2 separate regions of the Homo sapiens genome follow, and region 1 is linked to region 2. Evidence: promoter capture Hi-C in human tissues and cell types (Jung and others, 2019). All regions are on one chromosome and are shown on one strand. The core of a region is centred on a gene start or on the middle of the fragment in contact, and the rest is flanking DNA. Distances in the headings are between cores, read along the strand shown.

Region 1 (6,444 bases), core at 1,473-3,972, 1.0 Mb after region 2:
TCTAGGTTACAAGTTCCATACCCTACTTTCTTTTCCCATTTTTTAAAAGATATATCATGTTTTGGGAGGCTGAGCCAGGAAGATCACTGGAGACCAAGAGTTGGAGACCAGCCTGGGCAACATAGCAAAACCATGTCTCTATAAAAAATTTAAAAATTAGTCAGGCATGGTAATGCATGCCCACAGTCATAGCTACTTGAGAGGCTGAGGTGGGAGGATCACCTGATCCCAAGAGTTCAAGGGTGTAGTTAGCTATGATCGTACCACTGCACCTCAGCCTAGGTAACAGGGTGAAACCCTGTCTCTAAATAAATAAATATAAATATAAAAAGATATTTCAAAGTGTAAATAGCAGTTTTCTTGGAAAAATAGAAATTACCTTTCTGTTGTTTTAATTTTCCAAATACTAATTTCATTAATATTTTCTGATTTTCAGGTATAGAAAAGAAAAAAAGTCACCTTTCTCGTTCAGTTTGTTCTGTGGCAGAATTTCAAAGGTAATGTTCCAAATTCATTCTGACATTCATCACTGAGTTATCCAAAAAGAGAACATGCAGGGAATTTCAAAGAGAAATCTTATGCCACAGAAGTGACCTTTCATTTTATTAGCTAAAGACTGCTATCATTTTGATAAGCACAACTTAGTTGTGAAGAAACAATGCTCTGCTAGTCTGAGAGCAAAGATCAGCGGCGACCCAGACCCAATCTAATACTCCCTACCAGAGAAACCAAGCTCCAAGCTTCTCTGCAGAGTTCTGCTAAAAATACTTCCACAAATAGTGCTACAAACAACTTTTTTTTTTTTTTTTTTTTTGGAGATGGAGTCTCGCTCTGTTGCCCAGGCTGGAGCGCAGTGGCATGATCTCGGCTCACTGCAAGCTCCACCTCCCGGGTTCACACCATTCTCCTGCCTCAGCCTCCCAAGTAGCTGGGACTACAGGTGCCCACCACCACACCCGGCTAATTTTTGTTTTTGTATTTTTAGTAGAGACGGGGTTTCACCGTGTTAGCCAGGATGGTCTCGATCTCCTGACCTCGTGATCTGCCCGCACTTTTAACAAAACTTAACACCACCCTATCCCATAGTGTAGGAAGTAGAAGAGAAAAAACGTTACTGCCAGTTATCAAAGCTCCCTCAAAAGATAAATCCTCAGCTAATTTTCAAATTTGCTAGCATTCCAGGGGAAAGCTGTTTGTACATTTTATCTATATATTTATTTAATATGTAGATTCATTATAAAATGTGCCCTCTGCTATTGTCACAGTCCTTGGGGTATGTAAAAAAAAAAAAAAAGATTTACAATGTACCAATTATAAAAGATATGGCCAGGTGCGGTAGCTCATGCCACTGCACTACAGCCTGGGCAACAGAGCAAGACTCCATCTCAAAAAAAATTTTTTTAAAAATAAGATACAAAATAATTTTTTAATCCTTCAGAATAGGAAAGTTGCACTCAGAACATCTTCCCTTTCACAGAAGAAATGTTTGAAAAGCAGGATGTATCCAAGGCTCCAGTGATCTATGCAGATCTTCCATACATTTTCCCCAGTTGGCACCCTTCCCAATAGCTTTAATGGCCATATCCTCACTGTTTCCCACCCCCCCCACCTGAGACGCAGTCTTGCTCTGTCGCCCAGGCTGGAGTGCAGTGGCGCAATCTTGGCTCACTGCAACCTCTGCCTCCCAGGTTGAAGCAATTCTCCTCCCTCAGCCTCCCAAGTAGCTGGAATTACAGGCGTCCACCATCATGCCCCGCTAATTTTTGTAGTTTTAGTAGAGATGGGGTTCACCATGTTGGCCAGGCTGGCTTTGAACTCCTGACCTTGTGATCCAACCACCTCGGCCTCCCAAAGTGCAGGATAACAGGGGTGAGCCACCACGCCAAGCCCATATTCTCACTGTTGAATCCCAAATACGTATCGCTAACTTTGATATTTCCCCCGAATTCCAGAACTGTGGATGCATCCTCCCTCTGGAAATCTCCACTTCCTCTCTGTCCCTGTGGCCCGACACAGCACCTGGCACCCAACATTTAGAGAGCGAATTAGCGAGTAGAAATTTCTTTATGGAGACCTAATGAAACTTTGATGAACTGATGTGAATTAAATGACCATCACTTTTTCAATGATCACAGTTACATTTGAGGAAGGTCAGCACTTACATAACTCACAATCATCTAGCCCGTCTAGCCTCCCTTAATATGCCCTGTGTCACAAAATTAGTAACAGTTTAGGACTGGAACACTCAGCTTCTCTCTCCCAATGAAAAGTAATTCATTACAGCCATGAAGGAGCAGAGGGAGGCTCCCTCTAAACCTGAGGACTCAGGGGAAGCAGCTCAGAAGTGAGATGTTTTGGAGGAATTAACTAGGTAAAGAAAACCTGAAGCAATGGCATAGACAAAGCATGAAGAAATGAACCATCCCAGCGCAGCTGGGGAGGAAAAAGTGTAGACGGGAATGGTGATGCAACTTCAGCGACGGGAAAGGCATGATCAGAAAGGGTCACACTCGTCAGCCACGAAGCACGACTTTATAGAGGAAGACCTGGGAAATCAAATAAGAAAATTATATGATTTATTTTGTGTTTTTGAAAGATTGGTCTGTTTAGAAAAAAAAAAAAAGTAGAGGATGAGCTTTGTTCCTAAGGGGGGAAAAGGCAGAAAAAGGAGCTAGATAGAGAAGACAGAACAGCATGGCCAGAGGCCAGAGTCTGAGTGTCAGACATGGCAGAGGGACCCGGGAGGTCCGACCACCAATTTTAAGCTGCTTGTGGAATTGTCTCCTAAACCTTTATTAAAGTCCTCTAACACACGCTGCATCTAAATGATTTTTGTTGGTGGTTGTGTGTGTCATGCATGGTGTGTGTGTACAAATTAAGAAAAATAGCCAAATGCCACATGAGAGCCAGGGTGATGTTCAGTGGGGACAGTGATATGATCCCCAAACAGAACCAATTCCATGTATGCATGAGGTGAGGGACAGAAGCGGTTCAGGAATAAATGTCTCAGGACAGCACTGAGCCCCGCTCCATCTAGGGAATAGAGAGTCAGGTCCACCTTATCTAGAAATTAAGGGGCTGGGAGACCCTCACTGCTGAAATCCACTGACAATCCAACCTACAGCCTATATATAAAAACATGTTCTACATAAAATCTGAAAACTAGAGTAAGTTGAGAATTTTTTTAATTTCACAGGAAAATTTAATGAAAAACAGTTTAAAGTAAGATTCAGGGAAATCATGAAAGCTGGGATGAGAATGGCTACTTTGGTAGACTCTCTCTCTCTGGTCTAGAAGCAACACCCATCCTGCCTCCTCCAATCTCAATACTTCGTAAATTGCCCTGGAGAGGCTGAATATTAGGCTAATTTGGTCTAATTTGAATTGCTTAAATGACTAGCTATCTTTTACTGCCACCTCCTGGCCCCTTCTAGTATGTCTACCCTAAACTATTACGCTAAGACTGATAAACCCTCATATGCACACACAAAATACCAATTACATTCAAGAATCTCTTAATTGCTGGGTGCAGTGGCTCACGTCTGTAATCCCAACACTTTGGGAAACTGAGGTGTGCAGATCACCTGAGGTCAGGAGTTCAAGACCAGCCTGGCCAACATAGTGAAACCCCGTCTCTACTAAAAATACAAAAATTAGCCAGGCATGGTGGCAGGCGCCTGCAGTCCCAGCTACTCAGGCAGCTGAGCCAGGAGAATCACTTGAACCAGGAAGGCAGAGGTTGCAGTGAGTACTGAGATCGAGCTACCGCATTACAGGCTGAGTGACAGAACGAGACTTCATCTCAAAAAAAAAAAAAAAAGAACCTCTAACCAAATAAACTGTCAAATTAAACTATCACCACATTGCAGATGGAAAGTTATGCTACCGAGTGGGAGTCCCTGATCGAGGCAGCTGGTCATCCAGCCACATCCCCTTCAAGGTGGCTGTACACTGACAGTCACCTCAGCCAGGGTCTGGGTCCTCCGCTTTGTGGGTCAGGAGCCTCATCTGTCAGCACCCTGAGACAGATCTGTGTCTAGGGGTAGACACACATTAACCCAGCTCATAGAGACAGATCTATATTACCAGAATGTGGGGCCTCGTATCTTCTCTAAGTCAGCCACATAAGAAGTCAAATTATGCACTCAGAGAGCTTGGTGAGAAAGAAATCAGGGCCAGGACACTGGCCCTGGTTCAAGAACCTGGATCTTCAGTGACTTCAAGCTCTGAAAGCTGGAGGCACCTGTCTCCTCCACAGGGATATTCTGCCACCTGACATGACAAAGCAAATTGCTGAACCAGGACATCTTTCCTCAGCCAATGCTTGACTGGGAATTGTCAGGATTTGCCTTTTGGATGTTTCCTTGTCTAATTCTGACTAAACCAACTCCCTTTCTGATCGGCAAAATCTTTCCAAGGGTATGATTAAAGCCTCCAATTAAATTATCCTCAATCAAGTGCGCACCAAAATACATGTTTCTAATCCATCGTGCACTGATATAAAAGTCTTCTCTCTGTAGTGGGCTGTATTTTCCCTTTTTCCAAGCTTTGGAAGCACCCTATGGTAGTCTCCTGTAATTACTTGTAATAAACCAGTAGAGATAATGTCCATTTGTTGAAAAGCTTACAGACAGCTTGCACATCTACTGTCACAGCTATTCCTCTCAACCACCATATGAGGTTCTCTGTGTAAGTACTATGATTCTTATTTTACAGATAAGTACACTGAGATTCAGAGATGATAAGTGGTTTTCCCAACGTCACAGAATTAGTGGATATGGGGTTAAGACTAAAGCTCAGATCTTCAGACCCCAAATGAGTCTATTGAGGATACTTGCTTTTAACAACCTATAAAGGGGTTTAGCCTGACCCGCTGCACTACTCATATATTCAACAAATATTTATGGAGTGTCAATTATTAGCTATCTATTGTTTTAGGCAGTGGGGACACCATGACAAACAAGTTCACTAAGGTTCCTATGTCCATGGAACATAGACTCTGGGATGGAAGGCAGACAAAAGAGGAAAATTTCACATGGCAATGAGTCCTACGCACAGAAAAAAATCTGGTGATGCAGAACGCTGGTTGTCTGTTTCTCTTTGAGTCACCAAGGACAGCTTCTTTGGGGCAATGACATTTAAGCAGAGATGGGAATGACAGGAAGTCATATGATGACGAAAGGCAAGAGCATTCTAAGATGAAGGAACAGCTCATAAAAGCGCCCTGCGGTGGCACCATGCTTGCTCTTTCTGAAGATGAGCAGGAAGCCCACAGTGCAGGAGCACAGAGGCCGGGGCAAGGGTGGGAGGAGATGAGTCACGGTGGCAGGTGCCGGACCACGTGGTGTTTTGTTAAGGAGGATCAGACTGGCTTTATTCTAAGCTCAATGAAAAGCCAGCACACAACTGCAGAAACATTCTGCTTTTTAACAAGGTCACATCATTGTAGAGCAAGTTTTACACCCCACAATCCCAAAGTCCTGATCGTCCCATTATTCCTAGCATCCAGTGATTGGTATCTTGGTTAATATGGTATTTTTTCCATAAACAGGAAGAACATATTTGAAAGGCTTCAAACAATAATCTTTCAAGAAGAAAAGTTTCTGCTATCTAAAAACTCATATATATAAGCGGTAGGTTCATAACCTCAATACTCAGGCAATCTGACCTCCAAGAAGCCCTGTAAGGCTCCCGTGAGGCCCCAGTTGTCTTTTGGGAAAGCTCAGTTCCAAAAGGCTGGGGACGAGGCCAGAGTTCCACACCCTCGCCCACCCGACAAGAGAATCTCCCACAGGCTCCGCCCTTTGCGCTCTTCCCACAGTTGGCTGCTTAGATGGCCCCTGACTGCAGCTTGCTCCATATTCAAAGATAGAGCCTGGGGGAGGGATAGCATTAGGAGATATATCTAATGTTAAATGATGAGTTAATGGATGCAGCACACCAACATGGCACATGAATACATATGTAACTAACCTGCACGTTGTGCACATGTACCCTAAAACTTACAGAATTAAAAAAAAAAAAGAGCCTGTAACTGTCCAAGAGCAAAGGAATGTTCACAAGCACCCTAAGAGGATAGCAGGGAAGGAGAATCCAGAAAATAGAGAAGGGTGGGGCAGGTGGCAGGAGATGTCTAGCCTTCTAAATAGAAATCAATTGCATTAACAAAAAATCAGTCCACCACCAACCACCTCTCTCAAACACTGCTGATGTCAACAAAGAAAAATGACACTACCTTCCCTCAAGTCTGGTTTGGCAATGAGTTGCAAAAGCCTTTGACCTAGGAAATTACCCTGAGGAAATCATCCCAGGTGAATTTTAAAAGGGTTATGTAAATATGTTCACTAAAGCCTTATTTATAATGAGGCAAAATTTTAAATAATCAACAACAGAGAATTGGTTAACTAAATTACAGTAAAGCCATAGAAAGGAATACCTTAAAAC
Region 2 (6,302 bases), core at 3,582-6,081:
CAGAGCGAGACTTCATCTCAAAAAAAAAAAAAAAAAAAAAAGTAGCCGGGTGTGGTGGCACAAGCCTGTAATTCCAGCTACTTGGGAGGCTGAGGTGGGAGAATCGCTTGAACCTGGGAGGCAGAGGTTGCAGTGAGCTGAGAGCACAGCACTGCACTCCATCCAGCCTGGGCAACAGAACAAGACTCTGCATCAAAAAAAAAAAAAGTTCTATGAGTATTGACTTTTGGATTACAAATAAATTTTAGTGAGTAGGCAAATTTGCCAGTACTTTGGTAGGTAATGAGGATCAACTGTGTGTACAGAAGGAAGAATGAGGCTTCAGGCCGGGCACAGTGGCTCACACCTGTAATCCCAGCACTTTGGGACGCCAAGGTGGGTGGATCACCTGAGGTCAGGAGTTCGAGACCAGTTTGGCCAACATGGTGAAACCTTGGCTCTACTAAAAATACAAAAATTAGCTGGGTGTGGTGGCACACGCCTGTAATCCCAGCTACTTGGGAGGCTGAGGCAGGAGAATTGCTTGAACCCAGGAGGCAGAGGTTGCAGTGAGCCAAGATCGTGTCATTGCACTCCAGCCTGGGCAACAAGAGCAAAACTCCATCTCAAAAGAAAAAAAAAAAAAAAAAAAGAATGAGGCTTCAGAGTGGAGAGGAGGGAGCAGCAGACAGAGGATAATTCACAAAGCGGTTACCATGAAGCTAAACTTTGAGGGGTAAGTTAACTTCCCCAGGTAGGAGGGGACTCTGGGTAGAGTGGGCACCATGCACAGGGGCATGAGACAACAGGGGATGAAGTAATGTCTTTAAGGTGATGGTGAAAAAACCAGCGGCGAACATGTCAGGAAGAGCCCTGATGTCCAGGAACCTAGGAAAGGGCAGCACTTCCACACCCACCCCTTTTCACAGGGTTTTTTGTGAGCTGGGTGGTGCCAACTGCTATTACAGAGAAACCCCAACTCAGTGCTTTGACCCAACAAGCATATGATTTTTTGCACACATTAGAGTTCAACATGAATGATGGGTGAGCAGCTTTTCATGAAGTGATTGAGGGACCTAAACGCCTTCAAAACTGTGTCTCCCCCACCCCGAGGGCCTCAGAGTCCTGGCTGACGATCAGCAAAGGGGAAAGGTGGAAGGTGGACAGTTGCACAGGGGTGTCTACCTGCCACACCTTGAAGTGACTCATGTCCCTTCCATCTACACCCTATCATCACACGGCCCCACCTAGATGGGAGGAGGGATGGGGAATGAAGTCCCCAGCTGGACAGCTGCTTCCTAGGAACATGTCTACTACATGTTCATGTACTCTGGAGGAGAAATGTGACTCTTGGTGGACAGCTAGCTGTTTCTGCCACAGGCCCTCACATTAGTCCATCAGACTACAGGGCAGAACTGAAAAGCTGTAGCCGGGCGCAGCGGCTCACCCCTGTAATCCCAGCACTTTGGGAAGCTGAGGCGGGTGGATCACCTGAGGTCAGGAGTTCGAGACCAGCCTCAACATGGAGAAACCCCATCTCTACTAAAAATACAAAATTAGCCAGGCGTAGTGGTACATGCCTATACTCCCAGCTACTCGGGAGGCTGAGGCAGGAGAATTGCTTGAACCTGGGAAGTGGAGATTGTGGTGAGCCAAGATCGCACCATTGCACTCCAGCCTGGGCAACAAGAGCAAAACTCTGTCTCAAAAAAAAAAAAAAGAAGAAGAAGAAGCTGTGGTCAGTGAAGTCTATGGAAATGGAGTGTCAAGGTGCAGTCTAGACAGAGTATATAGCCAATAAATGCTTGGTGAATGAATGAATGAATGAGAAGTGCTTTATGCCTCATTCCCAGCTAGCTGGCAGGGAAGGGAGCATTCTCATTTTTCCTGCCGTCAGACACATTGCTTCCTGTACCTGATGTCTGAGTCCATTCAGGCTTCTATTACAGAATACCATAAACTGGTGACTTATAAATGACAGAAATTTATTTCTCACAGCTCTGGAGGCTGGGAAGTCCAAGATCAAGGTGCCAGTAGATTCAGTGTCTGCTGAAAGCCCACTTCCTAGTTGATGGAGGCATCTTCTCACAGTGTCCTCACGTGGTAGAAGGGCCAAAAAGCTCCCTGAGACCATTTCACAAGGGCAGTAATCTCATTCCTGAGGGCTCCCCTCTTACGACCTAATCACATCCGAAAGGTCCCACCTCCTAACCATCACCTTGGGAGATTCAAGATTGAATTTTGGGGAGGACACAACATTCAGTCCGTAGCACCTGGAGAGGAAATGTGACCACAGGAATAGAAAGAGGGATGCCCAGAGAGAAGAGGTCTAAGTAACTGCAAATCTGGTCTGTACCTATGAATATTCTGTCCATTTAATTCAACTTCTTTGGGATTAGGGCTACACAGACCTTCTGCAGGATTTGGAAAACCCAACGCATGACTGAGTGGTTAGAAATGGTTTGAAATAGCCTGGAAAGACTCCAGGGAGGAGAGAACGGAGCGCGCGCGTGCACACACACACACACACACACACACACACACGCAGAGCCGGGGCTTATCTCTAATCTCCATGCGGATTTTAATCCAGCCTTGCATGTAATCGCCTCATAACTCCACATTTCCAATTTATTAATCAAATGCCATCTATGAGGCAATGTTGCGGGCCCCACCGGTGTTTCTGCATTTGATGGTTGCTGAATATCTATGCTTCAGCAACTTCCATCCACGCCAAACAAGAGAAAAACAACCGCCACCTTTTCTCCCCAGAGCAAATTCACACTCAGCAAGGATAATCACAAATCCTCCACAGGTGAACAAATCAGAATAAATGAGGAGTCAACACACCCACCAAGGCCTGTGAGTTACGGTATCAAGGCAGCTGTCAGGGAGGGTCGTGGGTTAGGGAGTGCCTCCCTCTTCTAATCACAGGCACCATTTGAAAAATGCAGGAGAGGGGCCAGCTGCGTCTGCCAGGGAGACTGCTATAAGTCGTCTGTGTGCTTGTTCCCTGGCATCCCAGGGTCAGGAGTCCTGAAGCTCATCTGGCAGCTGCTGCGACAAAATCTTTCTGATGGCTCAAGACATTGGCCTCTATGATCTCATTTACATTCATTGTGTGTGCATTAGAAGGGGAGATATTAATACAAAAGCATGGCTATAGAAAAGGGATGAATTGTTTTTATTCAAACACAGAATGGTCAGTAGCAGACCCAAGGTTGTACTACTTGGAGATAAAAGTCTTTAACTCTGGGCCCTAATGCTGTCCCTGCTCCCCACCTGCCTGCCAGACTTCCACCTCCTCCTCATCTGATCCAGCAATCCAGCACACACAGGCTTGGCTGGGATGTGTGCAGAGAGGAGAGCCAGGCTCAGCCAGCTCCTAGCTTGGTGCCCCTGTAGAATGGTGCTTTAGAAATACGTGCTGCACAGATGAGCATGTGACTTAGTCCATGCCCTCCTCTCCTCATTGCCTCCAGCAACTTTCCTAAAGGGAAGGTAAAGTCTTGTCATCCCCCTGCTCCCTTCCCTACAGTGTGGAAATGCCTGGGAATTTCTGCCCTTGGACCTCCAAGCCACGCCCCTTGGGAAAGTGCCAGGATAGTGGTGGGGTGCTCAGAGGTGGGGACTCCCAGTTACCTGCTTTGGGTGACTCTGGCCTTAGCTGGCCCTGAGGTGGAGGCCGCCTGGGAACTGTGGGTCAGAGGAAGTCAGCTTCAGCTCCCTCAAATGTGGGGATCTTCCATCCCCAAGTGACCCACTCAATCTTTGGGGCTGTCGTGCTGTGAACTGGTCAAGAGAAGTATATGATCCAACTCCTGACTCAAGAATCTTGCCTGCTTGATGGATGAAGAGGGAAGGCGGATGGAACCAGCTGAGTGGAACCAGCCACAGAGCAAGCACGAAGTGACAAATCACCCAGGGACGAAATCATGCAGGCAGGCAGGTGGGCAACCTGAGTCCATTTCATCAGCCATTGTTTAATTTATTCTTGGTTGTACTTTCTGCTTTATTTCCAACACAATCAAAACCAGATGTGTGCAAAAGTCACGCTATCACCCAGCACAGGATTACCTAAGATCTATTATAATGCAGCTTCATGCCCATTACAGTATTCCCATGCCCCTCACAGGGCAGTGTGCATCTGTTTTAGTGCTACCTAATGTCTGTTAGGTGCAAGCTGGCCCACACATGGCTTCTAGGCAGAACAGTCTACAAGTGACAGCGTGACCAGAGAGCAGAGACAGGAAGGAGGCCCAGACATGAGTGTGGGATGCTGCAGAACAGCAACAGGATGCTTCTGCTATCCCCAAATGTTATCTCAAATACCTCAACGTCAATGCTTTCTGTTCCATGTTCCTCTTCTCCCTGGACAGCCCCTCCTTCTGAAAGTCAGAACTGTCTGCTCTTGAGCTTGCCTTGAGGGAAGGAAATAATTTAGATAAGCAGAGAGGAAGACAGGCAAGGGATGTGGTGGGGCAAAGGCGGAGATGTATCTTCACAGGTCCCTGTCCTCAGCACCCAGAATCACCCCTTCCCTGTAGGAGGGAGCTGATAGAAAGAGGGGATCTCCATCCAGGAGCCACCCACCAGGCAGCTGGAAACATTTGCCAACAGCAGGTACACCTAGGGCTCAGCAGAGGGTTGGGTGAGAATGGTCTTGCCCAGTTTGTGCCACACTGAGCACCGGCTGGAGGAGGAAGCGGACAGAATGCCATCTGGACACAAGTGCTCCCTCACTGCCTGGGCCTGGGTCGCCTCAGGCTTTTGTGTCAGATCAGCCACTCCCTCTACAGATAATGCTGCTCCAGGCAAAGAGGCTTAGGTGGGTCTCCAGGGCAACCGCAGCTCAGGAGCTGGCCCGCCTCCATGGTTCATCAGGGAAGCTGTGGCTCCAGCCTCGCGGGATACATACACGCATACACACACACACACACACACACACACACACACACACACACACACCTACACACCCCACAAACAATAGTCCAGGCTGGATCTCTCCTCCTGTCTCTTCTCTTGGTAAAACTTCTCAGAGAACCAAAGAGAGGCAAAATTTGAGGCCAGCCGGCAGCAGCAGAGAAGCTGAGGGAGACTTGAGGATGTAGACTGCCCTGCCCTGCTGTGGCTGCTCAACTTTCTTTTTTTTTCCTGAAAATATCCAGACACTCTCTTCTCCCAGACTGGGAAGCAGAACGCAGGCCCCCTGCTGTGACGCTGCACCTGAGCAGAGGCTGACCTCAGAGGTAAGATGGAGGTCTCCCCAGGAGACAGTGTCTTCCCCACCCGCACCCTGGCACAGCTGCACCTTTGGAAGTTAGGGCTGAGGCTTGAAGCTGGGTGGGGTGGCCTCAAGGGGTGTGGCAGGCTGGGGAGCCTAGAAAGCCGCCCACCTCCGGGACCCAGATGGCCACAGGAAGGCCCCTTTAGTCCTCATCAGTTCCACAGGAGTTGGAACCGATGAGGGTCCTGCAGCTTCCTCGGGGCTATAGCCTGCTCCTTGTTTTGTAAACCTGTGGGAAGCCATTGTTTTTGCCTGTTCTGGAACTGCAAGCCTCTCGGGGAGGACCCAGCTCCAGCAGGTTCCTTTCTGCCTTTATAGAGTGGACACAGGCAGGGGGAAGGAAAGCGAAACCCAAATCAGAGACTCTTGCATGGGTTTGCGAACTGTGATTCGAGCATCTACTAAGTCCAAGGCACAGAGTCAGGCTCTGGGGATGCAGCAGCACCCAGGGCACGAGGGTGATGGATGTGCCTCAGTCCCCTCGAACATGGAGCAGTCTGTGCATCCCTGATAACATGCCCAGGAGAGTGGGCCCAGGCAGATGGGTGCAGGGTGGGGCGCCAGGGAGATCGGGCCTAGAAGGAAAGTCCAGCTGCGACCAAGGGATGAGGGTCAGTCCCCTCCCACTGTGGTCAGTCAGACCTGTGTACACGCCCTCTCCTGGCTGCACCTCTGCCTCAGAATGGGAAGGACTGGCTGCCATTCACTCATTCATTCAGGAACCGCTTATCAAGTGCTACCATGTGCAGCAGATTCAACCCACATTCCTCTCGCCCTTGCAGAATTCATAGCTAGGTGGGGAAGAGATAAATACAACCCAAAGCGTGAGAAACGTGTTTGCTAGATGCCATGGTGATGGGCCCTTGTGTCAGGCCCTGGTGGCTGGGATCAGTGCTCCATGGGTGGGGGGAAGTGAGGGGCCGGCTGCAGGGAGGAGTTGTCTCTTGAGGGGTTCCCGACAAATGAGCAGATGTCTGTCAGGTGGGCAGAGGATCCACAGGTCAGGCCCGCTCATATCTGGCTTGGTGGATTATAGGTT

Evidence for each region. The method cuts DNA at HindIII sites, captures the fragments that hold promoters and counts their contacts. A contact is called where the count stands out against the background at its distance.
Region 1: a contact is called between a fragment that was not itself captured here and the fragment with the promoter of RD3 in region 2, in 1 of the 25 tissues and cell types used here (mesenchymal stem cells).

The regions. Positions count from the first base shown.
Region 1 is chr1:210,445,458-210,451,901 of GRCh38, reverse strand. All of the region lies in intron 7 of HHAT (hedgehog acyltransferase), which reads right to left. Among named protein-coding and RNA genes, the nearest start is that of HHAT, 120 kb to the right of the region's middle. The HindIII fragment of the contact is 5,703 bases long and covers 1-5,573 here.
Region 2 is chr1:211,490,691-211,496,992 of GRCh38, reverse strand. It overlaps RD3 (RD3 regulator of GUCY2D), which reads left to right and starts at 4,831. Exons shown (of 3, transcript NM_001164688.2): 1 at 4,831-5,225. The HindIII fragment of the contact is 12,360 bases long and covers 1-6,302 here.